Regions from separate parts of the Homo sapiens genome. Here regions 1, 3, 4, 5, 6 and 7 are each linked to region 2. Evidence: promoter capture Hi-C in 16 types of primary human blood cells and fetal thymus (Javierre and others, 2016). All regions are on one chromosome and are shown on one strand. The core of a region is centred on a gene start or on the middle of the fragment in contact, and the rest is flanking DNA. Distances in the headings are between cores, read along the strand shown.

What was found. The method cuts DNA at HindIII sites, captures the fragments that hold promoters and counts their contacts. A CHiCAGO score of 5 or more calls a contact.
Region 1: a contact is called between a fragment that was not itself captured here and the fragment with the promoter of CLSPN-AS1 in region 2, in 1 of 17 cell types (M2 macrophages). The highest score is 5.3, in M2 macrophages.
Region 3: a contact is called between a fragment that was not itself captured here and the fragment with the promoter of CLSPN-AS1 in region 2, in 2 of 17 cell types (total CD8 T cells and endothelial precursors). The highest score is 6.1, in total CD8 T cells.
Region 4: the fragment with the promoter of ZMYM4-AS1 here is called in contact with the fragment with the promoter of CLSPN-AS1 in region 2 in 11 of 17 cell types (M2 macrophages, total CD4 T cells, total CD8 T cells and 8 more); the score reaches 7.6 in M2 macrophages.
Region 5: a fragment that was not itself captured here is called in contact with the fragment with the promoter of CLSPN-AS1 in region 2 in 2 of 17 cell types (fetal thymus and total CD8 T cells); the score reaches 5.7 in fetal thymus.
Region 6: a fragment that was not itself captured here is called in contact with the fragment with the promoter of CLSPN-AS1 in region 2 in 9 of 17 cell types (total CD8 T cells, naive CD4 T cells, naive CD8 T cells and 6 more); the score reaches 8.5 in total CD8 T cells.
Region 7: a fragment that was not itself captured here is called in contact with the fragment with the promoter of CLSPN-AS1 in region 2 in 1 of 17 cell types (M2 macrophages); the score reaches 5.2 in M2 macrophages.

What each region holds. Positions count from the first base shown.
Region 1 is chr1:35,393,404-35,396,647 of GRCh38, reverse strand. It overlaps ZMYM4 (zinc finger MYM-type containing 4), which reads right to left. Exons shown (of 30, transcript NM_005095.3): 18 at 2,909-3,053; 19 at 1-96. Among named protein-coding and RNA genes, the nearest start is that of ZMYM4-AS1, 29 kb to the right of the region's middle. The HindIII fragment of the contact is 2,814 bases long and covers 175-2,988 here.
Region 2 is chr1:35,738,042-35,740,937 of GRCh38, reverse strand. CLSPN-AS1 (CLSPN antisense RNA 1) reads right to left here and starts at 1,493. Exons shown (of 2, transcript NR_199043.1): 1 at 1,425-1,493. CLSPN (claspin) reads left to right here. Exons shown (of 25, transcript NM_022111.4): 19 at 1,409-1,573; 20 at 1,681-1,802; 21 at 2,356-2,483; 22 at 2,841-2,896. RefSeq lists enhancers at 1,200-2,399, 2,143-2,644. The HindIII fragment of the contact is 7,776 bases long and covers 1-2,896 here.
Region 3 is chr1:35,412,099-35,415,036 of GRCh38, reverse strand. It overlaps ZMYM4 (zinc finger MYM-type containing 4), which reads right to left. Exons shown (of 30, transcript NM_005095.3): 27 at 954-1,065. Among named protein-coding and RNA genes, the nearest start is that of ZMYM4-AS1, 47 kb to the right of the region's middle. The HindIII fragment of the contact is 1,886 bases long and covers 446-2,331 here.
Region 4 is chr1:35,364,117-35,367,386 of GRCh38, reverse strand. ZMYM4-AS1 (ZMYM4 antisense RNA 1) reads left to right here and starts at 1,310. Exons shown (of 2, transcript NR_046659.1): 1 at 1,310-1,421. All of the region lies in intron 5 of ZMYM4 (zinc finger MYM-type containing 4), which reads right to left. The HindIII fragment of the contact is 9,120 bases long and covers 1-1,635 here.
Region 5 is chr1:35,455,764-35,458,849 of GRCh38, reverse strand. It overlaps KIAA0319L (KIAA0319 like), which reads left to right. Exons shown (of 21, transcript NM_024874.5): 10 at 2,609-2,837. Among named protein-coding and RNA genes, the nearest start is that of ZMYM4-AS1, 91 kb to the right of the region's middle. The HindIII fragment of the contact is 626 bases long and covers 1,259-1,884 here.
Region 6 is chr1:35,436,284-35,439,252 of GRCh38, reverse strand. All of the region lies in intron 20 of KIAA0319L (KIAA0319 like), which reads left to right. Among named protein-coding and RNA genes, the nearest start is that of ZMYM4-AS1, 72 kb to the right of the region's middle. The HindIII fragment of the contact is 5,091 bases long and covers 1-2,969 here.
Region 7 is chr1:35,262,759-35,265,759 of GRCh38, reverse strand. No RefSeq gene overlaps it. Among named protein-coding and RNA genes, the nearest start is that of ZMYM4, 4.4 kb to the left of the region's middle. The HindIII fragment of the contact is 1,924 bases long and covers 403-2,326 here.

The DNA of each region.
Region 1 (3,244 bases), core at 332-2,831, 340 kb after region 2:
CTGGAGCATATTGAGTATAAAGGTGAAGAGGTATGGGAACAAACACTGGTACGGGAACTGGCACCACAATAATCTGGGGCTGACTTGGAGTGTCTTCTAACAGTAACAACAACAAAATCACAAAAAGCAAAGAGGGTTAGAAATGCTTTCATAAGATTTCAAAATAAAAAAGCTTATGGAGGTTTATAGTTCAAAATAAGAGTAACCTATGACACTACAGGACTTCTTACAAAGGAGAAATAACTAAAGTAGCCAAAAAAATAAATCTTGAGTATAGCACTGACAAAAAGTGGGTAACAAATATCAGTGATGTGAGGAGAAAATGAATGCAGGATATAATTTAGATGGATAAATTGAAAGGATTGAAACAGGGAACCTAGAAGACAGGCATGGAAAACCACTTGCTAAAGAGGAGGCTGAATAGGGAGGGGCCATTTCCATCATGCTATAATGCACATTTCAAAATCATTTGTAGCTACTGAAGATTTTTTTAACACAAAGTAGTGATGAAAATGACATCAAAAAAGATTAATTTGGCAACAATTTCAGCACTGAATAAAAAATATATCAACTGTTAAAATAGGAGGCAATTATAATATGTAGAGCTAAGATGATGGGAGACTACTCTAGGTTATGATACCTACAAAAAAGAATAAATATATATAGCAGATGTTCTAAGTATTAAAAGGATGAAACAGAACTTGGAAAAAAACTTGGAGAAAGTAGCAAGATGGATGATTTATTCCATTATTTAACCAGACGGTCCCCAACTTAACGATGGTTCAATACAGGATTTTCCAACTTTATGATGGTGCAAAAACAAGTATATACCATACTTCTGTATAGCACTGAATGAATTACATGGTATTCAAAACTTTATTATAAAATAAACTTTGTGTTAGATGACTTTGCCCAACTGTAGGCTAATGTAAATGTTCTGGGCATGTTTAAAATAGCCTAGGCCCAGTTATGATGATGTTCTGGAGGTTGGGCATATTAAATGCATTTCTGACTCATGATTTTTTTAACATATGATGGGTACAACATTATAAGTCAAGGAGCATATAGAGTCCTTTCTATGTGTCAGAGAATATGCTAGATAAGTGTAAAATCATTAATCTAGGAGAAAGGTAATACTAGGGACAGAAAGAGAAGAGCTAACAATTTGACTAGAGTTAGAAGTGGGAAAATAATATGGCATAAATTTTTTTTTTTAACAGATGGGGGTCCCACCATGTTGCCCAGGCTGGTCTTGAACTCCTGGGCTCAAGTGATCCTCCCGCCTCAGCTGTCCAAAGTGCTGGGAGTATAGGCATGAGGCACCACATTTGGCCAACAAACTTTACATAATACAGCGGACATTAAAAAATTGTTACTTGATTTAGAAACATCTGATAACCAAACTACATAATACTAAATAAACTGCTATTGATTAAAAAAAAAAAAAAAGAACTAAATCATTTAGAGCCTTGCTATTTTGGTGTGGTCCATGAACCAGAAGCACTGACTTTACCTGGGAGCTTATAAGAAATGCAAAATCTCAGGCCTCACTGAATAAGAATCTACTTAGTAAAATTCCTGGATAATTCATGTGCATATTAATCTTTGAGAAGCAATGGCTGACAGGATAGCCTTGCAGCTCTAGAAATCAAGAATTTCCTTCTAGTTTAAAAATTCTGGGACTTTTAAAAATTTTTTAGTAGAGATGGTCTCGCTATGTTGCCCGTGCTGGTCTTGAACTCTTGGGCTCAAGTGATCCTCCTGCCTCAGCCTCCCAAACTGCTGGGATTACAGGTGTGAGCCACTGCAATCGGCCAAAATTCTAGGACTTTTGGATGGCAGCATGAGGAGCTACAAAGATCTATTCCTTAGTGAAACAAGCAAAGAAAGTGAAACTATTTAAAAACAGCCATTTAAATTCTTGGGAAATTGTCCTAAAGGCATATACCAAATGAAGAAACATTTATTCAAGACAATCTGTTCAAATTTGGTAAGAACAGTGAAAGTCTGTGACATTTCAGCCATCACAGGCTTTATCCCCCCAGCTCAATTCAGCTCAGCTTGACAGAAACTCCACTATGGGTAGCTGTGGCCAATAAAAATGGGCTTCTCTCCACTCAGCTCCCAATCAAGTGTTACTGTATCTCATCAAGAAAGGGAGGCCACAAGCATTTCTCATCCGCTCCAACTGAAAGCTGAAGAGGCTAAATTCCTGGTGAGTACGGGCAAGAGGTCAGGGGCTTCCCTTCACCCAGTTTCCATCCACTGGATGGAGGCTCTACCCTAGGAAAAGCAGGCCAAGAACACTGGGATCCTGATCACCCTCACCCCAGCTCACTTGTAGGGCAGAAGTTCCATGCCAGGGGAGGCAAGCCAAGAAGGCCAGAGACTACTACCCTGCCCAGCATCCATAGAGGTGGCTCAGAGATTCTGCCTAGGGGGAGAGGCAGTTCATAAAAAAAAAAAAAAAAAAAAAAAAAAAAAAGAAAGCTCTGAAGCTCTCCTCAAAGGAACTGACTTCATTTGAAACAGTGTGGAGTAGCCAAGAGACTGTGGAGTAGTTCAAACCTAAGGTCACACTGGAAAACAATAGCACCTCCTTAGAAGCCTGTCCATGTAATTCCAAACCTTATGCTTATTCTATAATATTACATTGTCATTAATAAGAGAATTAAATGACTTGCTCACAGTATGGTATCACTGATTAACTTCCTTCTCTTTGACCCAACTTGTTAAGCCTCAGATGCGGAAAATACCTAACTCACGGGGATGCTGTGAGAACTAAATTGGGCAATGTATACAAACAACCAAACACATCACCTAGGAAATAGCAGGTACTCAATGTAAGTAGATCCTACATTTCTTTCCCTTAAAAAATTAATAAAGAAAGAAAGACCAAGGAACATACCTGTCTGGCATTCTTTGTTTTGGGTATGTGGTTTGCAAGAGGTGGCTTTAGTCTGTGTGATGGGTTTGCATAATAAAGCTTTGTTCTTCAAAAGCCTTGGAGGTTGGGAAGGTGGCAGTTTCAGGGCATCTGTTTGAGTACTTGCCTAGTAAAAAAACAAATTAGAAACCAAAAACATTTTTAAAAATCTCATTGTAATTATAAGAAATATTATAATATTAAAGGAAATGTCATATTGGAATTACATGGAGGACATAGCAAGTAAATATTCAACCAAATGTATAAGAAATACAATACTCCTAAAATATTAATAGTAATCAAGGAATGTTTTAATAA
Region 2 (2,896 bases), core at 244-2,743:
ATACAGCTTTAGGTTATCCATAGATTTTTCTAAGGTAGTGGTTCTTCTCTGCAGAGCTCTTTGTTCAAATAAAATCTTTTAAAGAATGACAGATAAAAGTTGAACTGTTCAAAGATGGTAAGTGGGAAGTTTGGGAAACTTAGTGACTAGTGGCCTCTGAAGGAATTTTCCAGGAACTCTAGGATTTAGAACAACTTAGCTTTAAGAAAATACAGTATAGGCTGGGCGTGGTGGCTCATGCCTGTAATCCCAGCACTTTGGGAGGCTGAGATGGACAGATCCCCTGAGGTCAGGAGTTCAAGACCACCCTGGCCAACATGGTGAAACCCTATCTCTACTAAAAAAACAAAAATTAGCCAGGCATGGTGGCACGCACCTGTAATCCCAGCTACTCGGGAGGTTGAGGCATGAGAATCACTTGAACCCAGGAGGTGGAGGTTGCAGTGAGCCGAGATGGCATCTCTGCACTCCAGCCTAGGCGACAGAGCGACACTTCATCTCAAAAAAAAAAAAAAAGAGAAAATACAGTATAGGTCTTCGATAAAAATCAGTTTTCAGAAAGCCACCAAACTTCTGCCATTTTGGACCACATGGGACCAAGGTGACTTTGAATCCAGGGTGACACCAGATTTATTCTCCGGGGGAGCTGAAGTCATAAGAAGTAACTAGTCGTTTTGATTACCAGGAGCTCTGAGCCTTAGTCTTCCTTCTGATGTGGGGGTCAAGATTTGTTAGGCTGTAAGAAGATCCCAGTTTATTACCTTTCTACACCACACCATCTCTAGTTTGTCTCTTAAAGCTGGTGTGCTCAAATGCAAAATGAAATAGTTTGAACCTTCCAGCAGGTATTCTAATACATGTAAAAGAGATTAAGAGTTTTCTGGCTTTCAAATCACCCAATCTAAGTTGAATCCAGGCTCTGCTACCTTCTAGCTATGTGACCTTGGGTAAATGTAATCTTTCTGAGGCTCAATTCCCTCAACTGTAAAATGAAGAGAATAATAGTACCCATTCCTATGATAATATGTTAATGCCTGTAAAGCACAGTTATTAGCACACAAGACATATTAAGTGATCAACTTTTAAATACAGATGCTCCACATCTTACAATGGGACTATATCCTGATCAATCCATCATAAGTTGAAAATGCACTTTCATATTATCCAGATATAACTCCATCGTAAATCGAGAAGCATACTAAGTGCGTATCACATTCATGTCATCGTAAAGTTGAAAAATCATTAAGTCAAACCATCATAAGTGGAGACTATTACAAAAAAATTTAAATATTATCAAATGTATTATGTTTATTATTATTAGAAGTGACTCTGTTCTGCTTTTCTTTGCTTCCATATTCTGTGAGTATATTCATTGTTGCATTTTCTAATCCTCAAAATTGCTTTCTAGGAGGTTGAGGAAATACCTGGAGGATGAGGCAGAGGTGTCAGGAAGTGATGTGGGAAGCGAAGATGAGTATGATGGGGAAGAAATTGATGAATATGAAGAGGACGTAATTGATGAAGTACTTCCTTCTGATGAGGAACTGCAGAGTCAAATCAAGAAAATACACATGTCAGTATCCCAATAAGCCCTTCTGAGTAATAGGGTACATCTTAAGACAAGCCCTGTAACCAGCCAGAATGGTCCTTGTTTTGAACACCTTATTTCTCCTGTTGCAGGAAAACTATGTTGGATGATGATAAGCGACAGCTACGTTTATACCAAGAGAGGTACCTTGCTGATGGGGATCTGCACAGCGATGGTCCTGGGCGAATGAGGAAGTTTCGATGGAAAAACATAGGTATCTTGGTTGTTGTCTTTAAAAGCAATCAGTTACGGGCTGAGCATGGTGGCTCACGCCTGTAATCCCAACACTTTGGGAGGCAGAGGCAGGTGGATCACAAGGTCAGGAGTTCAGGACCAGCCTGAACAACATGGTGAAACCCCGTCCCTACTAAAAGTTCAAAAATTAGCAGGCTGTGATGGCACGCGCCTGTAATCCCAGCTACTCAGGAGGCTGAGGCAGGAGAATTGCGTGAACCCGGGAGACGGAGGTTGCAGTGAGCAGAGATCATGCCATTGCACTCCAGCCTGGGCGACAGAGCGAGACTCCATCTCAAAAAAAAAAAAAAAAAAGCAAACAGTTACAATGCATATTTGTCGAGTTTCAGATGGCAAATGGCAAGCAAAACTATAACAGGCTATGTGAAGACCTAGTTGTAACTGTTTTCTGTTAATGGATGGGAAAAGTTTACATCATTATATAGTAAATGATAAGGGTTTATTTTTTGTCTGTCCAAGCACCCTCTCCTGTGAGGACTGCCGAATGCTGATTACCTTCACTCTTTGTTTAGATGATGCTTCCCAGATGGACTTGTTCCACAGAGACTCTGATGATGATCAGACTGAAGAACAGCTTGATGAGTCAGAAGCCAGGTGGAGGAAGGAGCGAATTGAACGAGAGCAGTGGCTTCGGGACATGGTAGGAGTTCACCTACTCTGACCCTAGTTTATGAGACTGTCCCTTAGCTTGTCATGATAGTTTCAAAATCTTAGCTTGTCATGATAGTTTCAAAATCTTAGGCAACATATTGCTATCTCTTTTAATCCTTGAGCTATCTTTTGTGTTTTGAGAAGGCTATACCATAGACAGTTCTCTTCATGTTTGTCTAAGATTAATTTTTTTTTGTCTAAAGCAGCAAAGGCTGCAAAAAGGAAAACAAATACCCCAGGAACTCTAGTTTCACAATCCAGGCCATGCTAACTATTTAGGAAGGTTATAGACTTTTAATGCTGTATATATATATATATATATATATATATTTTTTTTTTTTTTCAGGCACAGCAGGGGAAAATTACAGCTGAAGAAGAAGAAGAAATTGGGGAGGACAGTCA
Region 3 (2,938 bases), core at 139-2,638, 330 kb after region 2:
TTACTCTGTCACCCAGGCTGGAGTGCAGTGGCACGATCAGGGCTCACTGCAGCCTCAAACTCCTGGGCTCAGGTGCTTCTCCCACCTCATCCTCCTGAGTAGCTGGGACTACAAGGCACCACCACCATGCCCAGCTAATTTTTTTTATTTTTTGTAGAGACAGAGTTTCACCTTGTTGCCCAGGCTGATCTTGAACTCCTGGGCTCAAGTGATCCTCCTGCCTCAGCCTTCCAAAGTCACACCTGGGACCACAGGTGTGAGCCACCACACCCAGCCATGAATTTAATATAATTTTCACATGATGAAATAGGAATTCTTAAAAAAATTTCCCCAACTATTTAAAAATGTAAAAACAATTTTTAGCTCATAGATTGCAAAACAGGGAGCAGGCCAGATTTGGCCCATGGACCATAGTTTGCAAACTCCTGTTGGAGATCATTAAGCTTACTGTTAAAGGTGCTCTGCAGCCCAACAGAAAGGTGCATATATTACTAAGCATAACATTGAACCTCTTCATTCACCTCAGCCTGAGACCTGGAGTGAATTATGGACTTGTCTGATGACATCTGGTCAAAGATAATTCAAGGACGAGGACTTAACTCTCTTAACAACAGTTCAGTATACATACAAACTACCAAAAAAGGTCCACTGTTAGCAGATATGATATGTGAAAGCTACACCAATGCTACCAGATCAAAAATGGTTTCTAAAAAGGTAAATGTAACTTCAAATTAGTTTATATTTTCTGCAATCAGTATCTATACATGTGCTATATGACTTGTACAGTTTTCCTAAAACAATCAACAATAAACCAAAGACCGTCTCCTCAGAAGTCCAAATATGGTATAAATCTGGACAGAAATAAAAATGAACAATTTTTTTAAAGATAACCAAAAAAGTTAAGCAATTTAAGAAAGCATATCATGAAAACAATAAAAAAAAAATCACCCTACCATTAGGAAGTATTGTAGGTTCCCATATTTTCAAGAGTTTGGTAAGTTCAATCATAAATCTGGAATAGGGCTCAGTAAAAATGTTATCTATTCTACCATTTTCAAACAGGTACTACAAGAAAAAAAAAAGAAAATATACATGTTGATAAAAAGAAAACATGAGTTCTTAAAAAATTATTGTAAGAAATACAGTTTACCCTTAATTTTTGCCCTTACAATATTATAAACCATGTTTAACCTCTCAGTACCTTAGAGATAGTTGTTAAAACACTAGAATTCAAGCTAAAGCTCCTGTTCTTATTAACACATTATCTTCAGCACTGACCTTGCAAGGTAAAGTTTTTGTACTTCGTTTTCAAACACGGATGGTACAGAAGAAGTATTATGAAGAACCCTTTACTTAGTTCCTAAAACTGACATACTAAAACTTGGTTCCAATGCACACGTTCCAAATCATGTTTTTCCTGATTCATAATGTGTATCTGCAGATGTGCTCTTTTGTTTTTTACCCTAGATACAAGATCATTTCTTGCAATCACACAGTTAGCTAATGTCAGTTGACCTGAGGAAACCCAAATTTAAAAACTATTTATTTGGAGCCTTCTAACTACAGCTCTCAACTCTGCCCCACAACCTAGCCCTCAAAAAAGTTCAAGTCTAATTATAGGACATTGAACTATGTTAATTATAACCATTAACAACCATATCATAGGCTAGAACAAAAAGAATACCTATAGTTTAAAAATGTATTGAGCCAGGAATGGTAATCCCAGTGCTTTGGGAGGCCAAGGTGAGAGGATCACTTGAGGTCAATAGTGCAAGACTAACCTGGGCAACACAGTGAGACCCATCTCTACAAAAAATTTAAAAACAAATAGCCAGGGGTGGTGGTGCATGCCTGTAGTCCTAACTGCTTGGGAGTCTGAGGCAGGAGGGTTGTTTGAACCTGGGAGTTTGAGACTGCAGCAAGCTATGATCATATCACTGCACTTCAGCCTGGGTAACAGAGCAAGACCCTGTCTCTTTTAAAAAGTACTGACGGCGCAGGTCAGATAAAATCAATTGAGACAGGGACACACCATGAGTAGTAACGGAATCCAAGGCAGCATGTAATTACGTGATAAAAGTATTTTGGTGTTTTTAAGGTTTAGTATTTTTAATTTATATTTCTGTGGCTATCTTGGTTTCTTGCATTTCTATGTATGATTTGGAGAAAATTATTTCCATTTAAATTTATTCTGGCTAACAAAAATTACCACTTCAATAGGCATTTTTATGAGGCCTCCTCAAAGGCAATTTATGAACTTATTGGCAGATTACAGTTTGTTGTTCAACAGTATTCCTCTTTTTCTTCTTTTAATATAGTCACTTTCAAGCTTAAAAATATATCTTCGTTATTGAAAAAGTTCAAAATAAAGAAAAAGTAGACTATTCAAACTCATTCAAACTCATCACACAAAGTCAACTACTATTCATATGCAAAAATATTTCCAATCTTTAAGAAATTCCATTATGCAGAAGTGAGTTTTGTACAGTTACAGAAATATATCAGTACATATAACGCAACATACATGTTTAAAAAAAGTCTCTTCCCCCTTAACCAGGAACAAGACAAGAATGCCTATCCTTGCCATTCTTCGTCAACACTGTACCGCGAATCCTAGCAGAGCAGCCAGGCAAGAAAAATAAATATAACGCATTCAAATAGGAAAGGAAGAAGTAAAATTATCTCTAGTTGCAGGTGACAGAATCCTATATATAGAAAATCTTAGAGAATACACAGAAAAATGAATTATTAGAGCTAATAAGTGAATCCAGCCAAGTTGCAGCATATAAGCAATACACAAAAATCAGCTGTATTTCAAGCTAGCAATGAACAATCCAAACAGGAAATTAAGAAAGTCCCGCCAGGTGCGGTGGCTCATGCCTGTAATCCCAGCACTTTGGGAGGCTAAGGCGGGCGGATCACAAGGTCAGGAGATCGA
Region 4 (3,270 bases), core at 61-2,560, 370 kb after region 2:
TGTGGTGGTGCACGCCTGTAATCCCAGCTACTCAGGAGGCTGAGGCAGGAGAATCGCTTGAACCCAGGGTGGTGGGAGGGCAGAGGTTGCAGCGAGCCAATATTGCACCATTGCACTCCAGCCTGAGCAACAAGAGTGAAACTCTGTCTTTTAAAAAAAAAAAAAATTAATTAATTGTATGATGTTCAACCATTTAACAGCATTTGCCACATTCAACCTCTCCATCCATTTTTTAGAATATATGTGTAATAAGTGTGTGTATGTGCATGCCTATTATTCTTCTACAAAACTTCATAACCTAACCATTGATATTTTCATCAGAATTGCATCAAATCTAAATCTCAATTTTTTTTTTTTTTTTTGAGATGGAGTTTCACTCTTATCCCACAAGCTGGGGCACGATGGTGCGATCTTGGCTCACTGCAACCTCCACCTCCCAGGCTCGAGTGATCCTCCTGTCTCAGTCTCCCGAGTAGCTGTGATTACAGGCATGCACCACCACGCCCGGCTAATTTCTGTAATTTTTGTATTTTTTAGTAGAGACAGGGTTTCACCATGTTGGCCAGGCTGGTCTTGAACTCCTGACCTCAAGTGATTCGCCCCCCGCTTGGCCTCCCAAAGTGTTAGGATTACAGGCGTGAGCCACCGCACCTGGCCTTAAATCTTAATTTAAAAATAACTGACATCTACATATTTCTTACATTTAAAAAGATGGTCTCTTCATTATTTCAAGTTGTATTTGATATAAGTACTTTTTAGTTGCTGCTGGGAATAGTGTATCTTTTTCATTATATCATCTAACTGGGAAGTTTATTTATAGAAGTATTGGTATAATTCAACTAGGTACTCCACTAAATTTTCATGAATTCTATTAATTCTTTCATAAATATTCTTAATAGCAAGTGATAATTTTATTTCCCTTTTTCCATTATTTTTTCTTCTAATTTCTTTAACATGGATTGAAGTAAAAATCCAACAAGAGTTAAATAATAACGATGACATCCGCAACTTGTATTCTTTTAGTAATATTAACAGAAGATTTCCATCATTTTACTTCAACTTCAATAACTGTTACTGATCTGAAGTAGTAGTTCCTTACTATGATCAAGAAAAAATCTATTCTAAGAAATGTCTGAATTACATGAGATGTCTTTTGGCATCTAATAAAGTGACTATTACAGATACCCTTATTTGACCTGCTGATGAAATATATGTATTAAAAGATTTTCTAACATCGACTAATCATGACATTCCTTCATTATATAGTGTATTAAAGAAAATTTCCTTAAATATTTTTATTTTAATCTCAGAAAACTCCAGAAACAACCAATACTCATTGGCATACATTAACGGTCTGCAGTCAGCTCTCTTAGTCTCTGTGATGGCTATTGCAAACTTCTGCTGGATTCCTTTAGCCTTGAGTACGTATTATTTATGTAATATAGTAAAATAGTATACATCTTAAGTACTGTTTGTATGGTCCACAATGCCTTCAAGGCACAATCATGTTTGGTTTATGTTTGGATCCTCCCATGATCACTAATTTTACAAGTATTTGATAAACAAATCAATGAGTAGCCAAATACTAATAAATATTTTCTGAGAAGTAAATATCTAATTGGTAACCCAAAAGCTTTCAGAAGCAGAAAAACACATGCCAAAACACAAAAAAATTCCTTTACCAATACCTTTACCTTCTTAGTTTACTACAAATGAAGATCAATATTAATATCCCATGAAAGTATTTTAGAAATGAATAACACAGTTTCTATTGCCAAATTAACTCAATATGGCTAAAAGAGCCCCAACATTTGAATTACTACATTTTCTTTCCAAAACTGTGTGAATGACTATTATGACAATTAGTTCATTTGCTTTCCCATTTTAATTGAGTTCTTTCAATGAGAGACTACACATTAGCTCGTCCTCTATTATTATGAACAAGAAGAAAAAGAAATCATGACTTTAATGTAGTATTTACTGAATGTACAGTTTTTAGACCCTATGGAAAAGGCAAAAGAGGAAAATGAGGTCTCTGGCTCTCTTTAAAGTATCTATTTTGAAACCTTCCCTTGGTATTTTTAAAATTAAACAACTTTTATTTACAGAAAGATTGGTAGACTAAAAAAAAAAAAAAAAAAAAAAAAGACTTTGATTATGACCCCAGATTGGCTCCTTCCTGGCCATGAGGGCTTGAGTAACTAAATCTCTATATCTCTCAGCTCTCTCACCTATAAATGTTAACATCCTCTACTCTGGCCATCTTATACAGGGTTGTTAGGCGAATTAAGCAACACAGTACGTGTAAAAGCATCTGTAACTGTAAAAATACTACAGAAAACATTATAGAAACATGCAATAGAATTAGAATGAAGAAATGAAACTGTGAGACCCAATGACATTATGCCAGTAATAGAGGCAGGAGGACGGACAATGACTGGCAAATCCAGAATATCATAACTGAAGAAATAACCAAGAGCAAATGGGTAGAGGAAGTTAAATACATACACACACATTTCAGCACCTTGTTTATATAGTAAAGTAAAGAAATTAGGACCAAAATGAATTGTGTAAAAAAGAGAATTAGGAAGTGAGCTAAAAGCAAAACTACCTAAATTAAGCACAAAGAAAAGCCAAAGGAAGTTTTGAAAAGGTGCCATAAACTAAAGCTATGATTTTATTGAACCATGAAAGAAGTTACTGGTAACTGATGGTCAAAAGTAAACACTGACCACAACTGTAAAATCTATCAGTATTTTATGAGAGGCTAATAGTACTTTTTTGAGACTAATAATATAATACACTAGAGTTCTCTTTTCCAGTCCATGGGAAATGAATAAAAGTAATAAATTATGCAATTTTGAAAGGCAATACTCTTCTAAAAGAAGGAGGGAAGGTGGAGACGGGTGTGGAAAAGACAAGAAAAAGAAAAGAAGGAAAGAATCACATATCTAGTTTATAACATGAGAGCTGCTCTGGGGGATTTCTAGAAGAATTATCAAAGGTCTGATCCTATAGGACTGGTATTGCTGACAACAAAAAGGACTCCTCAGGGAAAACCTAGCTCTATCCACTCACATACTACAAGTCCCTTATTGTGGGGTCAGGGTAAAGAATGCTTTTGGATCTTATGCCCAGGACCTACTCACATTACTGCTTAATTCTCAAGTCCAATCAATCAGGGAGTAAGCCTTTGGGGAAGTTCTTCCCATAATCATGATGAAACTTCATATTCATATTCAGTATTTGATAACACATTTTATAATTCTG
Region 5 (3,086 bases), core at 322-2,821, 280 kb after region 2:
TTCACCTTAGATTTCTAATGTCGGAATTTTTCTATTTACAGAATTCAGCTTGGGCCAGGTTGATCCTTTTAAAACATAGTAACAATGATAGCTGATATTTCTTGAACATTTACTATGTGCTAAATACTATTCTGAGCTCTTTGCTGGCAGTATTGCATTTAATTCTTATAACAGGTATTATGGTTATCCTCATTTTACAGATTAGGAAATTTTGGCACAAAGAGTTTAAGTAACTTGCCCAAGGTCACACAGTCTAACTCTAGAGTCTAAGCTTTTAACCACAAGGTTAACCTACAGGTTTTTTAGTGGATGGGGTATGAGAGTGATTTTTTTTTCCTAACCTTCATTTTAAAAAAAATCTATGAAATGATATGATTTGATTTGATTAGCATTAAGGTTGTAATTCACTCACCTTTTCCTCTCTCTTTTACATGGCAGTAGCCTTTTTCCTCAGCCCTATAGTCAGCTGCTGTTTGGTTTCAGGATCTTTGCAGGCAAGCCAGGGACTGTTTGAGGTGAAAGAGAAAATGGGCAGCTGCCATTTTGCCGTCTGTCTATAAGGTGCTTTTGTCCTGACATAGGAGACAAATGGCATATGTTAAAAACAAAAAACAGGCTGGGCGCAGTGGCTCATGCCTGTAATCCCATCACTTTGGGAGGCTGAGGCGGGTGGATCATGAGGTCAGGAGATCGAGACCAGCCTGGCTAACAAGGTGAAACCCCGTCTCTACTAAAAATACAAAAAAATTAGCTGAGCATGGTGGCAGGTAGCTGTAGTCCCAGCTACTCAGGAGGCTGAGGCAGGAGAATGGCGTGAACCCAGTAGGCGGAGCTTGCAGTGAGCCGAGATCGCACCACTGCACTCCAGCCTGGGCGACAGAGCGAGACTCCGTCTCAGAAAAAAAACAAAACAAAAAAACCCAAACCTGTGAAAACAACAGAGAAACTAGGAAAAGAGGCAAAACTTCTGTAAATTTTTGTTTTTCAGATATCTGCTGATTGGTACATGTTTGTGTGTCTGAGGTTTTTGTGCTTTTTTCCTAAAGGCTGTAATACCAAAAATCCCCTTCACACCATAGGTAAAAGGTGAGACTGCAGGATAAAACCTCACTGACGTCTGGCCCTGTCTGTGGCTGGTGGTGAGATTTAAACAAACTACATGTCTTTTCTATGCTTTTCCTCTTTCTGTCAGCAAAATGGAAAGATCCCAAACCTCCTTGCTTGCTTATGCTCACATTTTGAGGTGGCATGAGAAGCTTTAGGCTGTTCAGCTGGAAGGCATCATTTAGGTAAAAGCCTGCTCTTATAAATGAACATTTTTTTTTATTTTCTTTCTTTCTTTTTTTTTTTTTTTGCAAATCCTGTGTCTCACTGGCACAAATTGTGGGACTGTTGCGTAGGAGAATTCATTTTCATCTCAAGCTCCTGCCTTACTGGAGCCAGCCCTCCTGGTTCGTCCCGCAGGCTGTCTGCCTAGGATGTCCATCGTTGTGATGTGTAAACAGCTGGAACAGGATGATGGGAAAACAGCCTGCTGCAGACGGAGCTTGCACTACATAGCGTAGGGAATCGGGAATAGGGACTAAGAATTACCTCTTCTTAAGATTTGGTTTCTGAGCTTTGGAATCAGAGAACTATGCTTGCATCTTGGCTCACTATATAGCCCTTGGGTGGGTTACTTAGCCTCTCTAAGCCTCTTATAAAACTGGAATCAATGATGCCTACTCTATATGGTTGTTATGAGGGCCATATCAGACAATTCTTATAGAGACCTCAGGACACAGATGCGTGCAGGCAGCAGCAGGACAAAATGGCGCTGGAGACATATTGCCTGGATCAGAACCTGACTCCACTGCTTTCAAGCTGTATGACCTTGGGCAAGCTTGCTTCCTTCCTTCCTTCCTTCCTTCCTTCCTTCCTTCCTTCCTTCCTTCATTCCTTCCTTCTTTCCCTCCCTCCCTCCCTCCCTCCTTCCTTCCCTCCCTTCCTCCTTCCCTCCATCTCTCCTTCCTTCCTTCCTTCCTTTTTCTTTTTTTTTTTAAATGAAGTTTCCCTCTGTCTCCCAGGCTGGAGTGCAGTGGTGCAATCACAGCTCACTGCAACGTCCGCCTCCCGGGTTCAAGAAATTCTCTTGCCTCAGCCTCCCAAGTAGCTGGATTATAGGCCTGCACCACCATGCCTGGCTAATTTTTGTATTTTTAGTAGAGATGGGGTTTCACCATGTTGGCCAGGCTGGTCTCAAACTTCCAACCTCAGGTGATCCGCACGCCTTGGCCTCCCAAAGTGCTGGGATTACAGGTGTGTGCCAACGCACCTGGCCTCTCTGTCTTTCTCCTCATATATGTGAGGAGTAAAATGAGGATGATACTTTATAGAATTGTTGTGAGGATTTAATGAGATATAAAGAACTTGGAGCAGTGCCTAGCACATCATAAAACTTCAGTCAGTGTTAGCTTCTAGTAGTACTTTCTGCTTCTCCAATAGAAGTGGGTAAGAATAGGTAACCTTGCCACATTGGTATTTCTTAGCCTTAATTTTCAGTCTTCTAGTGTTTATTCCTCTTTCCTTAAACCCGTCCCTGATCACACTCCTCTCTCTGCCCTGATAGCTTGACTGTAGTAGACTCTGATGGAGCTACCAACTCTACTACTGCAAACCTGACAGTGAACAAAGCTGTGGATTACCCCCCTGTGGCCAACGCAGGCCCCAACCAAGTGATCACCCTGCCCCAAAACTCCATCACCCTCTTTGGGAACCAGAGCACTGATGATCATGGCATCACCAGCTATGAGTGGTCACTCAGCCCAAGCAGCAAAGGGAAAGTGGTGGAGATGCAGGTAGGAGGGAATGGTTCCTATTTTTTCTTGCCCAAGAGAAGTAGAGCTGCTGGACTGCATTTTTAGAAACCTCCAAACAAACTGAGAAAGCTTTAGGGGCCTTTGATTAACGTGGTAGCAAAAATCTTTATCTTGGCCGGGTATGGTGGCTCACGCCTGTAATCCCAGCACTTTGGGAAGCTGAGGCGGGCGGATCATGAGGTCAGGAGTTCGAGACCAGCCTGGCCAACATTGTGAAACCCCGTCTCT
Region 6 (2,969 bases), core at 235-2,734, 300 kb after region 2:
CAGGCAAAGGAACAAAACTGGTGCAGACCCAGCTGCTAGAAGGAGCAGAGAGCATTTGAGGAGGTAGAAGAAGGTGACATGATGGACAGGTTCACCTTCCCACAGAGTAAGGGGTGAGTGACCCAAGGCTCAATGGATGAGCAGGGTCCCTGCTGAGGACTTCTCTTGAGTACAATGGGGAGCCACTGATAGCTTTTTAAGGGGATGAATGGTGGGATTTGGTTTACATTTATTATTATTTGAGACAGAGTCTCACTCTTATCACCCAGGCAGGAGTGCAGTGGTGCGATCAAGGCCCACTGCAGTCTTGACCTCCTGGGCTCAGGTGATCCTTCCACCTCAGCTTCCTAAGTAGCTGGGACCACAGGCATGCGCCACCATCCCCAGGTTTTTTTGTTGTTGTTGTTGTTGTTTTGTATTTTTGGTAGAGACGGGGTTTCATCATGTTGCCTAGGCTGTTCTTGAACTCCTGGGCTTAAGTGATCTGCCTGCCTTGGTCTCCTAAAGTGCTGGGATTATAGGTGTGAGCCATGGCACCCGGTCTTGGTTTATATTTTAAAAAGACAACTGTGTAGCTGGGCGTGGTGGTGGGTGCCTGTAATCCCAGCTACTCGAGAGGCCAAGGCAGGAGAATTGCTAGAACCTGGGGGTGTGAAGGTTTCAGTGAACTGAGATCACTCCAACCTGGGCAATAAAGCCAGACTCTGTCTCAAAAAAAAAAAAAAAAAAAAAAAAAAGATAACTGTGGCTGACAGATGCAGGGGTTGGAGGGGAAAGGCTAGCTGAAAGGAAGTTAGATAGAATGTCCTTGGGGTTGAGAGGCAGATAGATTCTAGATACATTTTTGAGGAAGACTTGATGAGGTTAGTGGTCTGCTGGCCAAGGCGTGTGGGAGAAGGGAGAAAGGAAGGATGGCTCCCAGCTTCAGCACTGAGCCTCTGTGGGTTGGGTGGTGGTAGTATCCCTGAGATGGGAGAGACTGGAGAAGAAATGGTGGAGATCAAGTGTTTGGTGCAAGACAGTTATGAATGGAGTTGAGGGAATGAGAATGAAAGATTGACAAGGCCCAAATTGTGAAAGTTTGACTATCAGCCTGCAGAGTTAAACATTTATCCTGGTGATGCTGGGAAGCAAAGTCTTGGATAAGCTGGTTTAGGAAAATCAGTCTGGTGACAACATATAATAATTGAAGGGGAGTGGCTACAAGTGTGGAGACCAGCAAGGAGATTTTTGGTCCAAGGAGGAGCTGACAGTGATTCACACAGCGTGGTGTCAGTGGGTTATAGCTAGGTCTGGCAAGGTCAGGGCTGACTTCCAACCGAGAGATGGAGAATGATAGTGCTGTTGACAGAATCAGAACCTCTGATGCAGTGACTGGGTAAGAGAAGATGAATTAAATGGAACTCAGCAGAAGAGTCAGACATGGAACTGTAGAAATAGGAATCTCCCATCTGCTGGTGAGGATCAGCACCACAAAGGGTCACATCCCTTATGGGGGAATGTTGAAGGACAAAAGAAGAGGCCTAGGGTTGAGGACCCCAAGAATGACCATCCAGGAGGGAGGAGGGGATTCATTAGGGGACAGCCGTCGGTGTTTGCTGCTGCAAAGGCCAAAGAATCAGAATTGATAGCACCAGAGAAGCTCCTGGCCCATCAGAGAGCTGCAGTAGAGTGGGGAGTGACAGTGGAAGTGAAAGCGCAGGTGATTTAGAAAGCGCAGTGAGGAGATGAAGGCCCTGAATATTTAAAAATCCTTTTAGAAGCTGAGCAGTGAAAGCTAGAGAAGCAGGATGGCAGGCAGAGGGCAAGGGCCTCCTCTTCCTCAGAGAAGGGCTCATGAACAGATCTGTGGGTGGCAATGTCGAATGCAGGTAGAGGAGTGGTGCGTTGGAGAGGTGCTTCCTGACTGAGGAGGAAGGAGGGAGAAGGGAAGAGAGGAGAGAAAGGGAGCATGGAGTTCAGATGCCTCTTCTGAGGCAGGAGGGGAGAAACGGGCGGTGATGGCCCGGAGAAGTGCCGCGCTGCAGAGGTGAGATTGGATGGGAGCCTGAGCTCAGCACATCGGACATCTTAGGGAGAGGGGAGAGCCATGGGGTGTTCCAGTGGCATCTAGGTGACCAAAACCAACAACGTGCGACCAGGTGAGGGCAGCAGGGCTGGTCTCTTGTGGGCAGTGTCTACCGAAGGGAGCTGGGAGAGCCCGCTCAGGTTCGGTGTGGGTCTGAGCAGGCCGGAAGCACTGGTTCTTGTTCTGGGCTCAGTGGGTTAGCAGGTCCAGCCTAGAGTAGAGTCACTAGGAGGACGAGGAGAATGAGATTCAAGACCATATGGTGTCAGGTATGGAACTGAAGAAGTTTAGCTGGAAGAAGGGTAAACTGAGTGGGTCCGTTGGGGGGAAAGAGGATGTGTGTGCGCGGGAGTCTGGACGGACAGTTTGCCAGGAGCCAGTTTAGGCTGAGGATGAACAGTAACTGAGGAAGGAGAGCAGTGCCACCTGGTAAGTGTAGGGCTGCCCCCCTCAGGAGGCCCCCTTTACATTCAGCAGCTATGGCTTTGTTTTCTCTTGTTGCTGTTGTTTTTTGTTGTTGTTTTTGTTTTCTATTGATTTTTTTTCTAAAACTTTCTATTGAAGTATATTAGGTTGAACCTAGGCTCCTGTCCTCACTGCTATAGCCAGAGGGGCTTTGGGAAGGAGGCAGCTGTGAACAGGTGGGTATTTCAAGGGGTGAGGCAGGGCCTTTGGAGGACCTGGGCCCTTGCCAGGGCCCTTTCCACTGTCCCCACCACACTGGAGATGTCCTGGCGGTCAGTGTTCTTCTGTGGCCCTGCTGCTCCGCTGCCCGAAGACTCAGTAGGAGAGGTTCAGTCAAGACCCAGAACTGTAACCCTGACACCAACGCGGGTGAGGAAGCTCCCTGCCCAAGCCCCAGAGCATGTGGCACAGGCACAGCTGTACATGGACAAGGTCC
Region 7 (3,001 bases), core at 115-2,614, 480 kb after region 2:
TTTACATACTCCACAGGAAATGCCTTCCACCCAAATATCCTTCCATCCAGGACAGCTAAGCCATGAGGCTGCATATAGGGAAATAAAAGAAAAGTCTGACTCTTTTAATAAAAGGGTAGAGAGAAGAAGAACAAAGAGAAAAGTAAGAGAGGCATCATTGAGAGACATGTGCTCCTGTCTTCCCATTCCAGCTCTTCAAGGCAGAGAGGATTCTTACTCTGCTCCTGTTTAAGATTCCAAGTAGAGATGACTTGCAGACTATGCCCATACCAACAAGCAGACAGCCACATATGAGCAAAAGTCATGCCCTGATGTAGTTGGGAAAAAAGAGCAGGTCTGCATTTAGCTCCTCAGAGTGTCTCTCAGCCAGAGATGAATCCAGGTTTTACAGATCTTGAAGCTTACATGATGGGGGGAGAGGGAGGGTTTTTTTGTTTGTTTGTTTTGTTTTGTTTTTAAGAAAAAGAACACAGAATTACATACACAAAATTAGGTACAGGGTTTTGGGCGGAGCTCTGCAAGTGAGTGGTCCTTAGCTCCTGCGAGAGAAGATATCCAGAAGTTCCCACATACCCTGTAGAAGAATACGGAAAGTAGCCAAGAATGCTGGCTGGCAAGTATAGGAGGAAGTAGCTCTGTAAATTACACTGGGCCAGGAACAAAAAGTAGTAACAGCCAGACCTCAGGAAGAGCTGTGTGGTTTGCCTTCAGGCTCTGAGCAAACTTAGCGAGGCCAGGCTACAAAACATTCCACTCTCTTAACAACAGGCTGTAGAGCATCCTGAGAGGTCAGGGACTCCGAATAGATTCAAGGTCTCAGGCTTCCCCAAAGTCATAATGCCTCATAAATGCAGACGTTATTTTAGATACTCACTCAGAGGGAGAGGGCAGCCACAGGAAAGATACAGTGTTTCTTTCCAAAAGAAATTATTAACTAACAGAATTCTAACCATTAGATTCAAATATGTTTTAAACTACATTGGACATTTAGGTAGATCCATTCAGAAAATGTTAGGAAGAAAGTAAAACAAGTGGGATAAAAAATAACTGTAGTGGGGCTACTTTAGATATGTTAGTCAGTGAATATTTTCCGAGGAGGTGACTTTGTTTTTCTTTTTCTTTTCTTTTGGAGGCAGGGTTTTGGCTGGGCACGGTGGGTCATGCCTGTAATCCCCGCACTTTGGGAGCCGAGGCAGGTGGATCACTTGAAGTCGGGAGTTCCAGACCAGCCTGGCCAACATGGTGAAACCCTGTCTCTACTAAAAATACAAAAATTAGCTGGGCATGGTGGCACATGCCTGTAATCCCAGCTACTCGGGAGGCTGAGGCAGGAGAATTGCTTGAACCCAGGAGGCAGAGGTTGTAGTGAGCCAAGATCGTGCCACTGCACTCCAGTCTGGGCGACAAAGTGAGACGCTGTATCAAAAAAAAAAAAAAAAAAAGAGGCAGGATCTTGCTCTGTCATCCAGGCTGGAGTGCAGTGTCACCTTCATAGCTCACTGGAGCCTCAAACTCCTGGGCTCAAGTGATTCTTCTACCTCGGCCTCCCAAAGTGCTGAGATTACAGCTGTGAGCCATCGCACCTGGCTAGGAGGTGACATTTGAACTGAAACTTAAATCATGACCTCATGACTGAGAGCCATCTGTGCAAATGTCTGGGTCAGAGCATTCCAGTCAAAGGGAGCAGCAAGTGTAAAACCCCTTGGCAGGAACAAACTTGAAGTGTTCAAGAAAAGCAAGGTGCCGATGTTACTAGGACCAAGTGAGATGGGGCAGAAGATGAAGTCAGAGAAGCAGACAAAGACAAATTATGAAGATCCTTGGATGCCATGGTAAGGATTTGTAATTTTCTGTGTATGATGTAAAGCCATTGAAGTCTTTGAAAAAAAAAAAAATGATGTGAACCCTCTGGATACCATGTGCATTGCAGAATAAGCCATAAAGGAGCAAGGGTGGATGTAAGTTACGAGGCTTTGTGGCAGTCCAGGTAAGAGATAACAATGACTTAGCCTAGGGCATTGGCGTTGGAGATAGTAAAAATTAGATTCAGAATATATGTATTTTGAAGGCGTAGCCCATGGAATTGCTGCTAATGAATTGGGTGCTGGGAGTGAAAGAAAAAGTGATTTAGGGATGATTCTTAGCTTTTTAGCCTGAATAGATAGGTTAATGCTGTTGCCCATTATTTGAAATGCAAAAAAAGAGAGCAGATGTGAGAAAGTGGGCAGAGAAAGAAGGAAGATGTCTTGGACATGATAAATTTGAGATGCCTCTAGACATCCAAGTGGAAATGTCGAATAGCAGTTAGATATTCAAATCTGAAGCTTAGGAGAGATAACAGGGCTAGAGATAGAAATATGAGAGTCATTGATATAAGCCATAGACTTGATAGAGTTACCAAGAGCACGTATATTGAAATGAATCCGGAGGCACCCCGACATTTACAGCTCAGGAAGAGAAAGAGAATCAGCCAAGTAGCAGGAAAGTCAGGAGAATTTGTGGTCTCAGTAACCAAATAAAGACTGTTTTGGGAGAGGCTCAATTACTAATTTTTCAGATGTCACTGAGAGGACAAGTAAGATGAGGCCCAAGAATTGATGATACGATTGAAAGATCTTTAGTGATCTGGACTAGAATTATTTCAGTGGATTTGTTTAAACATAAGCATGATTGGAGTGGCTGGAAGAGAGAATAAGAGATGAAGACATAGAAACAGTGAATGTGAACAATTCTTTCAAGAAGTTTCACTTTGAAAAAGATTAGAGAGATAGAGTGCTATTGGAGAGGAATGTGGCCCAAGAAATCTTTTTTTAAAAGATGGGAATCACTAATGCACATTAAAAATAGTAAACCATGACCAAATACATTGGAAAGGTCAAATAAATGACATGGGCCAGGCGCGGTGGCTCATGCCTGTAATCCCAGCACTTTGGGAGGCTGAGGCAGGTGGATCACCTGAGGTCAGGAGTTTGAGACCAGCCTGGCCAACATGGTGAAACCC